Linked DNA regions of Homo sapiens: region 1 is linked to region 2. The links are contacts of gene promoters, found by promoter capture Hi-C in blood cells and fetal thymus (Javierre and others, 2016). All regions are on one chromosome and are shown on one strand. The core of a region is centred on a gene start or on the middle of the fragment in contact, and the rest is flanking DNA. Distances in the headings are between cores, read along the strand shown. Region 1 overlaps ZNF564 (zinc finger protein 564). Region 2 holds the start of ZNF441 (zinc finger protein 441).

Evidence for each region. The method cuts DNA at HindIII sites, captures the fragments that hold promoters and counts their contacts. A CHiCAGO score of 5 or more calls a contact.
Region 1: a contact is called between a fragment that was not itself captured here and the fragment with the promoter of ZNF441 in region 2, in 5 of 17 cell types (naive CD8 T cells, activated CD4 T cells, M2 macrophages and 2 more). The highest score is 7.8, in naive CD8 T cells.

The regions. Positions count from the first base shown.
Region 1 is chr19:12,525,520-12,530,963 of GRCh38, forward strand. ZNF564 (zinc finger protein 564) reads right to left here. Exons shown (of 4, transcript NM_144976.4): 2 at 3,051-3,177; 3 at 2,785-2,845; 4 at 1-2,397. The coding sequence ends at 927. Among named protein-coding and RNA genes, the nearest start is that of ZNF564, 23 kb to the right of the region's middle. The HindIII fragment of the contact is 920 bases long and covers 970-1,889 here.
Region 2 is chr19:11,763,138-11,768,570 of GRCh38, forward strand. It overlaps ZNF441 (zinc finger protein 441), which reads left to right and starts at 3,863. Exons shown (of 4, transcript NM_152355.3): 1 at 3,863-4,059. The coding sequence starts at 4,057. RefSeq lists an enhancer at 4,024-4,123 and silencers at 4,194-4,333, 4,784-4,893. The HindIII fragment of the contact is 9,985 bases long and covers 2,955-5,433 here.

The sequences.
Region 1 (5,444 bases), core at 180-2,679, 760 kb after region 2:
AATCCTAATGAGATGCTATGTATGTCTTGAGTTTGATTTGTATTTCCCTAATGACTAAAGATGTCGAGCATTGTTACGTGCTTATTGGCCATCTGGGTATCTTCTTTGGAGAAATGTCTATTCAAGTCCTTTCCTCCATTTTAAAATTGGATTGTGTCTTAGCTTGGGTTGCTAAAACAAAATACCATAAATTGGAAAGCTTAATTAATCAACAAACATTTATTTCTCATGGTTTGGGAGGCTGGGAAGTCCAATATCAAGGCACTGGCATAGTCCATGTCTGGTAAGGGCCTGCTTCCCGGTTCAAAGATAGCTATCTTCTCACTGCACCCTCTCATGGTGAAGGGCAAAGCTAGCTCTCTAGGGATTCCTATCAGGAAACTAATCCCAATTACAAGGCCTCCATCTTCATGATGTCCTCCAATCCTAAAAACCACCAGAGACAGGGCCTCCAAATACCATCACATTGTGGGGGAGAGGGGGGGCACGGGGGTAAGGTTTCAACATATGAATCTGAGGTGGCATACACTCAGCCAAAACATTACACCTCTGGCCCCCAAAATCCATGTCATCACATGTAAAATATATTCATCTCATCCCAAAGGCCTCAAAAGTCTCAGTTAATTCCAGCATGAAGCCTAATGTTTAAACTCAAACTCCAAAGTGTCATCTCAATATCACATCACTCAGATATGGATGAGACTCAATTCATGCTGAGGCAAAATTCTTCTTCAGCTCCGAACCGGTGAAAACCAAACTAGTCATGTATTTCCAAAATATGAGACAGGCACAGGATAGAGATTCCTATTCCAAAAGTGAGAAACAGGAGAAAGGGGTGAGCTCCCAAACAAGTCTGAAACCCAGAAAGCAAACTGAAGACTTTCCATATTCTTTAGATATGTAGATACTTGTAGACCTGTCCTCCACTATTCATTTTCACAGGTATTCGAAGGTTGTGTGATAAATGAAAGCTTTCCCACATTCTTTACGTAAGGTTTATCTCCATTATGAGCTCTTTCATGTCTTTGAAAGGAACTGGAATAACTGAACGTTTTTCCACATTGCTTACATTCATAGGGTTTTTCTCCGGTATGAGTTCTTTCATGTATTCTAATGGAACTGGCATAATTGAATGCTTTCCCACATTCTTTACATTCATAGGGTTTTTCTCCAGTATGAGTTCTTTCATGTGTTCGGACAGAACTAGGACAGTCAAAGGCTTTACCACATACCTGACATTTATAAGGTCCATCTCCAGTGTGCAGTATCATATGTTTTCTAATCCTTTTAAGAGAAATGAAGGCTTTCCCACATACCTGACATTCATAGGGTTTCTCTCCAGTGTGAGTTCTTTCGTGTATTTGAAATGAACTGGGACAGTCAAAGGCTCTACCACATACCTGACATTTATAAGGTCCATCTCCAGTGTGCTTTATCATGTGTCTTCGGACACTTGGGAGAGAAATGAAGGCTTTCCCGCATTCCTTACATTCATAGGGCTTCTCTCCAGTGTGAGTCCTTTCATGTGTTCGAACATTACTGGAAGAACTGAAGGTTTTACCACATTTATTACATTCATAGGGTTTCTCCCCAGTATGAGTTCTTTCATGCTTTCGAACATAACTGGGAAAAATAAAGGCTCTCCCACATACTTTACATTTATAAGGTCCATCCCCAGTGTGCCTAATCATATGACTTTGAAAATTTGTGAAAGAAATGAAGGCCTTCCCACACTGTTTACATTCATGGGGTTTCTCTCCAGTATGAGTTCTTTCATGTATTCGAAATAAACTGGGGCGGTCAAAGGCTTTTCCACATTCCTGACATTTATAAGGTCCATCTCCAGTGTGCCTAATCATGTGTCTTTGAAAACTTGGAAGAGAAATGAAAGCTTTTGCACATTCCTGACATTCATAGGGTTTCTCTCCAGTGTGAGTTCTTTCATGTATCTGAAATAAACTTGGGCGATCAAAGGCTTTCCCACATTCCTGACATTTATATGGTCCATCTCCAGTGTGCTTAATCATGTGTCTTCGAACACTTGGGAGAGAAATGAAGGCTTTCCCACATTCCGGACATGCATAGGGTTTCTCACCAGTGTGAGTTCTTTCATGTCTTCGAAAGGATTGACAAGAACTGAAGGCTTTCCCACACTGCTTACATTTATATGGTTTCTCTCCATATTCCTGATAGTCATATGGTTTGTGTCCAAGGTGAGATCTGATGTGCCTACTAAGGGATGAATGATGCATGAAGACTTTCCCACACAAACTACATTCACATGGTCTTACTATAGTAGGAATTTTCTTGTTCAGATTAAGATTGAGAATCTGACTGAAGGCTTCTCCACATTGATCATATTCTTTACTTTCACTGAGTCCCTCTTCCATATGATTTCTGGAAAAAATAGAAAGCAAGATTTAGTGGTTTGTGACTTTATATTTATTAATAGGTATTCGACTTACATTTTTACCATAATCGCGGAAAGGGTAAGTTTTCAGGCCTGTATGAATTGTTTGAAAGTGAATGGATGGAATGCTCTGCAAGAGAGCTTGACAGTAGCTATCACCAAAAAAGTGATATCCATATATACAGTTTCTTAATACTATTTCCAAGTGAATGATTTTGCAACACTGAACATCTATGCCACTTTTTCTTTTTCTGGTGAAAAAGTTGTAGGAATAAATAAATCTGAAGCTGGGCTTACTGGTTTGTTTACTTATTTTTAAAATTTCATGACATACTAAGAAGGAGACATTGCTTTATCTTGTCAGTGCAAATTACCTTAAAATTCTCCCCTGATTTTTGTACCAATCTTCAATGCTCTGGTCTTCCCATTTTTTTCCTAAAATATAGTCAGAAAAAATCCTTATGAACTGATAGACATTACAGAAAAATGACTAGATTCTAAGTTCATGATAAGGTGCAAACAACCCTGATTTATTCACCCAAGTATTCCCTTTTCCACATTAGACATCATGAAAAAGCATTAAAAAGCAAGAAATACTTCTTCTCTAACTGACTAAAAGAAGGAATGATGTCATCCTTACCTACACAGGCCAGGTTTCTAAAGGTTTCCCGCATCACATCTCTGTAGAGTTTCTTCTGGGAAGGATCCAGCAAAGCCCACTCCTCAAGTGTGAAGTTCACAGCCACATCCTCAGAGGCCACTGAGTCCTAAAACATCCCAAATATGCAATGCAGGAGGAAGAATGAGATGACAGTACAGGGATGTAAACCCAATTCATAAAAGTTCACAAATGGCTAGGTGTGGTGGCTCATGCCTGTAATCCCAGCACTTTGGGAGGCCAAGGCATACAGATCACCTGAGGTCAGGAACTTGAGGCCAGCCCGGTCAACATGGTGAAACCCCATCTCTACTACAGATATATGAATTAGCTGGGCGTGGTGGCGTATGCCTGTTAATCCCGGCTACTCAGGAGGCTGAGGCAGGGGAATCGCTTAAACAAGGGAGGCAGAGGTTACGGTGAACCAAGATCACGCCACTGCACTTCAGCCTGGCTGACAGAGAGAGACCCCATCTCAAACAAACAAACAAAAAACAAAACAAAAAAGTCGACAAAACGATGTGGCAGTCTCCAAACATTTATTTTATGATAAATAAATATGGTTGTCAGAATTCCGTCTACATTCACTTTCTCATAAATTTAATTACCCCATGAAAACATGCAACTGATCTCTACATTTTTACTGTAGTCACTACAAGTTTTATTGGTCTCTAATGGCAGGATCCAGTTCACCTTGGAGAAACAAATAAAATGCTATACAAAGAAAACAAATTTTGGCCAGGCCTGGTGGCTCACACCTGTAATCCCAGCACTTTGGGAGGCTGAGGCAAGAGGATCACAAGGTCAGGAGTTTGAGACCAGCCTGACCAACACAGTGAAACCCCGTCTCTACCAAAAATACAAAAAAATTAGCCGGGCATGGTGGCATGCACCTGTAATCCCAGCTACTCGGGGGGCTGAAGCAGGAGAATAGCTTGAACCCAGGAAGCGGAGGTTGCAGTGAGCTGAGATCATGCCATTGCACTCCAGCCTGGAGGACAGAGAGAGACTAAGTCTCAAAAAAAAAAAATTTAAGATCATCATTCCTACCAGGAAAAACTTCCATTTCCTTTCATATCTCACACCAATCAGCATTCCATGAAACACAGGGTAGGCCAGGCGCACTGGCTCATGCCTGTAATCCCAACACTTTGGGAGGCAGAGGCAGGCGGATCACCTGAGATCAGGAGTTTGAGACCAGCCAGCCCAACATGGCAAAACCCTGTCTCTACTAAAAATACAAAAAATTCACTGGGCGTGGTGGTGGGCACCTGTAATACCAGCTACTTGGGAGGCTGAGGAAGGAGAATCGCTTGAGACCAGGAGGCGGACGTTGCAGTGAGTAGAGATTGTGCCACTGCACTCCAGCCTGGGTGACAAGAGCAAAACTCTGTCTCAAAAAAAAAAAAAAAAAGAAAGAAAGAAAGAAAAAAAGAAACACAGGATAAAAACTGAAAAAGGTATCCATGAATAAATAAATATACACTGAAGAAGTGAAACCATTTTCTTCTGTTCCCTTCATCAAACATGAGAGGCCAGAAGGCCCGTAGAAATCCACGTTCTGACAAAATCCAGCTGACCACACTTTCCTGAAGGATTCCAGGCCATCAGACGTAGACAGATCAAGTTGGTTGAAAGAAAATATTCCTCTGCAAAAGAAGTCATTTTAACCTGCATGTATAACATTTGTTATAGACTCACTGATTCCTTTGACTCTGTCCCATTTCACTAGGCTAGGAAGCTACTGGGAAGACAGAACTCAGGCATGAAGAAGAAGGTATGGCAACTTAGGCAGCGCCCCCTCACCCAGCAAAATCCCCAGTCATGAACGTCAAGGGCAGTTTCCCACCTATTTTTACCTTACATACACAAACATACTAAGAAGACAAAATGCCAGAAGAGTTTTTTCTGGCAGATACATAACAAGGTACCCTATGACTTGCTAACCTTGAGGAACAGGTTAAGAGTTGCAATTTCTGAGGGATTTCATTCAAGTCCAGATGGTTTGATGGTGAATTTGACCATGATTATAAAATACACGAAGGGATCAGCAGTGCTTTTCTCCAAAAGAACATAAAATCCTCTTTCTCAAATTTCAAGAGGAAATGATTCCTGACCAGTCACTATGTGATACTACATTGTGTAATGTCAAGGCAAAATAAAATAAGGGGAAAGATGGGTTCTTTTGGTTTTCTTAGAAATGGGAACTTGCTCCGTCATCCACACTGGAGTGCAGTGGCATGATCACAGCTCACTGAAGCCTTGATCTCCTGGGCTCATGTGATCCTCCCTCCTGAGTCTCTCAAGTAGCTAGAACTATAGTCGCAAGACACCATGTCTAGCTAATTTTTAAATTTTTTGTAGAGATGGGGTCTT
Region 2 (5,433 bases), core at 2,613-5,112:
TGAAGCAGAGCTTTAAGCAGCTGGGCTAAGGATTCGAGGAATTCTCCAGCTCAGATCCATCCACAGAGACTGACAGAGGTCAATTTTTTGCTTGTTTCATTTTCTCTTTTTCTTTCAGTTTCTGGCATTGTCAGAACACTGGGTGAATATAAGCTAAAGGGACAGAGACCTCAGTGACTACACTGGACAGGGAATACAGTCTCTATAAATACACTTCTGAAATAAACAAGATTACCAAACAAATAAGCAATTACAGCCTTCAGCGAACATAAATCGCATAAAAAAGAAGGGGGAGAATTTGATTTACAGAGTTACTCTTATTATAATATTCAAATGTCTAGTTTTAACCTTTATTTTAGGTTCCAGGGTACATATGCAGTTTTTTTATATAGACAAACTTGTGTCATGGGAGTTTGGTGTATAGATTATTTCATCACCCAGGTACTAAGCATGATACTTGATAGTTATTTTTTCTTATCCTTTTCTTCCTCCCACCCTTAAGTATGCCTCAGCGTCTGTTGTTCCCTTCTTTGTGTTCACATGTTCCCATTATGTAACTCCCACTTATTAAGTGAGAATATGTGATATTTGGTTTTCTGTTCCTGTGTTAGTTTGTTAAGGATAATAGCCTCCATCTCCATCCATGTTTCTGCAAAGGCATGATCTTGTTCTTTTTTATGGCTGCATAGTATTTCTTGGTGTATATGTGCCAAATGTGCTTTATTCAGTCTACTGTTAACAGGCATTTAGGTTGATTTCATATATTTGCTATTGTGAGTAGTGCTGCAATGAACATAGGTGTGCATGTGTCTTTATGGTAGAATGATCCATATTCCTTTGGGTATGTGGATCCAATACCCCAGTAAATGGGTATTGGATTGCTGGGTCAAACGGTAATTCAGTTTTTAGTGCTTTGAGGAATCACCACGCTGCTTTCCATAATGGTTGAACTAACTTAAACTCCCACCAGCAGAGTATAAGCATTCCCTTTTCTCCACAACCTTCCCAGCATCTGTTATTTTTTGACTTTTTATTAATGGCCATTCTAACTGGTGTGAAATGGTATCTCATTGTGGTTTTGATGTGCATTTCTCTAATGATTAGTGATATTGGGCATTTTTTTTTTCATTTGCTTGTTGATTACATGCATGTCTTCTTTTGAAAAGTGTCTTTAATCCATCTTGAGTTGATTTTTGTATATGGTTTAAGAAAGGGGTTCAGTTTCAATCTTTTGCATATGGCTAGCCAGTTATCCCAGCACCATTGATGAGTCCTTCCCCACTGCTTGTTTTTGTCAGCTTTGTGAAAGATCAGATGGTTGAAGGTGAGCAGCATTATTTCTAGGCTCTCTATTCTGTTCCATTGGTAATGTGTCAGTTTTTGTAAAAATACCTTACTGTAGCCCTGTAGTATATAGTTTGAAGTCTGGTAGCATGATGCCTCCAGCTTTGTTCTTTTTGCTTAGGATTGCCTTGACTATTTGGGACTTTTTAAGTTATTTTTTTCCAAGAACTAAGTCTTGCATTTGCTAATCTTTTGTATGTTTTTTTTTTTTTTTGTATCTCAATTTCCTTCAGTTTAGCTCTGATTTTGGTCATTTTAGCTCTGATTTTGGTCATTTCTTGTCTTCTGCTAGCTTTGGGATTGGTTTGCTCTTGCTTCTCTAGTTCTTCTAGTTGTGATATTGGGTTATTAATTTCAGATCTTTCTTTTTGATTTGGGCAGTTAGTGCTATAAATTTCCATCTTAACACTTCTTTAGCTGTGCCCCAGAGATTCTGGTATGTTGTATCTTTCTTCTCAGTTTCCAAGAATTTCTTGATTTTGGTGTTAATTTCATTATTTACTCAGAAGTCATTCTGAACCAGGTCATTTAATTTTGATATAATTGTATGGTTTGGGGAGATTTTCTTAGTCTTGATTTCTATTTTTATTGCACTGTGGTCTGAGAGTGCAGTTGGTATGATTTTGTTTGCTTGTTTTTTTAATTTGCTGAGGGTTATTTTATGTCTGATTATGTTACTGATTTTAGAGTATGTGCCATGTGGTGAGGAGAAGAATGTATAATCTGTTGGTTTTGGGTGGAAAGTTCTGTAGATGTCATATCCATTTGGTCAGGTGTTGGTGGAAGGCTAAGGAGGAGCAAAGGCAAATGTTACATGGCGGCAGGCAAGAGAGCATGTACAGGGAAACTGCCCTTTATAAAGCCATCAGATTTCATGAGACTTATTCACTATCACGAGAACAGCATGGGAAAACCGCCTCCATGATTCAATTACCTCCCACTGGATCACTCCCATGACATGTGGGGATTATGGGAGCTGCAATTCAAAATGAGATTTGGGTGAGTAAGTCTCATGAGATCCGATGGCTTTATAAAGGGCAGTTCCCCTGCACACGCTCTCTTGCCTGCCGCCATGTAACATTTGCTTTTGCTCCTCCTTTGCCTTCCACCATGATTGTGAGGCCTCCCCAGCCATGCTGAACTGTGAGTCAATTAAACCTCTTTTTCTTCGTATCACCATGGGTGCCAGCTCCCAGTTAATAACGCTTTTTTTTTGTTTGTTTTTAAATAGAGATGGGGGTTTCACCACATTGCCCAGGCCGGTCTTGAGCTCCTGAGCTCAAGCAATCCACCCACCTCAGCCTCCCAAAGTGGTGGGATTGCAGGCATGAGCCACGGTGCCTGGCCTCATAATGCTTTTATATCTGGTATTCTTCATAAAAATATGAAGATGAATGTTTTCAAATTCAAAGTCTAATGTCTCAGCCTTTGATTGAAGCATTTAATTCAATAACATTTATAGGCTTGATGGAAGGAGCATTTCCACGCTGTGTTTAGGAGACAGGAGGGCAAATTGAACTCCCAGAGTTAAATCCATTAGTGCCCCTGACTCATCCCCAGGTTCTGATCCACCCTAGGGCTCCATTTCAGGAATTATCGTCTGGCCTCCAAGCTTTGGAATATGTTTGGCCTCCTGAAAGTGGTTGACTTGTGAACTGTGTGTGGATGCAGCAGGCTGCTTATCTGAGCTAGTTCAAGTTTTTGCTTTATAAAATATTGCCGCCATATAATTCCAGTTTTTCCACACATTTAACAATTTTATTTATTTCTTTTTTCTTTTTTCTTTTTTTTTTTTTTTGAGACGGAGTCTCCCTCTGTCTCGCCCACTCTCTCACTGCAGCCTCTGCCTTCCAGGTTCAAGTGATTCCTCTGTCTCAGCCTCCTGAGTAGCTGGGACTACAGGCGTGCGCCACCACATCCGGCTAATCTTTGTATTTTAGAGACGGGATTTCACCATGTTGGCCAGACTGGTCTCGAATTTCTGACCTCAGGTGATCCACCTGCCTCAGCCTCCCAAAGTGCTGGGATTACAGGTGTGAGCCACCACGCCCGGCTTTGTTGGGGTGTTTTTATATTCTGCACTGAAAATTAGTAGATTGAGACATAAGGTGGGAGAAAGGCTTGGCCTGTGCAGCCAACAGCCTCATCCAAAACTCCTGATTCCTGGAGGACATCAGCCCCTCCCTTCTGCTGCAGTGTGGCCTGGGCTCCCTTCCTGCTCTCAAATCAGGGGATAGCTCCACTGGACAGTGAGTCTGGAATTTCCTGCACAGACTTGTGGGTCCCTGTCCAAGAGGAAAAAGGAGGAAGGTCAGGACATACTGCCTAAATGCAAATGTCCCCTGGGAGGGGGTCAGGTCACAGCGCAGGGAGGAAGCTAGTCCTCTCAAGGCCTGTCTGGAATCTGTTTATCAGGTTCCACTCCGCTGCCCGAGATCGCTTCTTCCGTTACTCAGTGCCCGGGGGAGGGACCTGGCGCACTATCCAATCAGGGCCGCGGGGCGGGGTCGTGAGAACTGTCAATCAGGCGCACTGACCGGAGGAGGGTGCAAGGTTCAAAGAGCCCGCCGAGTCTTCTCCACGCCCCTGCACTGGGCTCCGGGTTCTGTCACTGAGAGACGCCCTGGAACGTCTGTGGCAGCTTCTGTCTCGCTGGGACCCGCACTGACAGCGGGAGGCAGAGGGAGGAACCTGGACGCCGGAAGCCGGGAAATGGTGAGTGTGTGAGGTCTGGTGTCCCGACGCGTGAGAGGAGAGACTGGTTGGAACCGGCCGGAACCGGCTGTGGTGGCACCAGGTCTTCCCCGCCGGCGACACCCTGGCGCAGCTCGGCCCTCGGTTCCCTCGGCCGCACGATGGGGCTGGGGCGGCAGCCGGGACCCCGGGCGTCCTGTCCCGTCCCTGCGCGGCCACTGCGGCCCTGGCCCTGGAGGCCTGTCTGGGCAGCTCCGCGCCCGCAGTCCTGCGTCTCCCCAGATTGTGCGGCTGTAACCGGCACAGGTTCGCGGCCCGAGTCACTGCACCGAGACGCCGAGGGCTGCAGCAGAAACAGTTTAATAGGGGGAGAGGGGAGGACACCCCAGATCCGCCTTCCTGAGAGGTTTGGGGATGGGGTGTTTAGGGGTGTGGACAGGGGCGGCTGGGGCGTGGGGTCGCTGGATGGTGGGGAAGTGAGGGGTGACTCTTGGGACTGGAGGTGAAGAAACCGCATTCTTCTGCTGAGTGGGTTCCCTTGTGGGGTCTTCAGCCTGGTTGGCGCCAGCCTTTCCGCTGGAATTCAGGATCTGAGAAAGAACTCAGGCGACTCTTGAGCAACTCTCAGAGATCTCATCCCCAAGCACAATGGCGAAGCCGGCGGTCAGCATCTGCTGTGGCCTGACTCTTGGGGAGGCGGCCCCGCGAGGCAGCGGGGCTGAGGGCACCTGGTTAATATCTAACTGCAATCTCGCCTCCAGCCTGGCTCGCAGTTCTGTGAACCCGGTGAGGAGGCTGCACGGTGATGACAGGTCACCAGGCAGACTCGTGTGTGGGGTTTGTGTGTGGGAGGAGTTGTGGTCTGTGTGGTCCCCTGTCCCTTCTTTCTTCCCAAGGGTGACCCGTTCGCCTTCGAGTCTTCCAAAGATGTGGGCAGCAGGGTCTCAAGTCCACCACTGTGTTCTCTCATCCTAACTCCTCCTAGGGCCGACAGAAAATCCCTTGGCTTCCAGAGCCTTCCTCAGGCTTTCTCTCCTCAATTCACAGCAACTTTATGAACTCCTTGTCCCCCAGTTTATTTTTCAAACAGAGGCTAGTATTTTAATTGTCATTTTGTTTATACATAGCAATATATGGCTCTTTGTAAAAGGTTTTGTGTTTGTGAACATTTCACATGAGAGGAAGCAGAGAAAAACCACCAGACATTTCGCTGTAAAAAAAATGAATATTAATAAATAAAATCTTTGTTACTGTCCTCCCTTCATCATCCCTAGACAGAGACACCTTTTGAGAATGTCTTTGGATTAAGTTTCCTCTTTGGAAACGTTACAGAGTGATGAGTCCCCAGCCCATCCTCTATGGTTTCCTGGTCCTGGGTTTCAGAGCTGCCTGGGG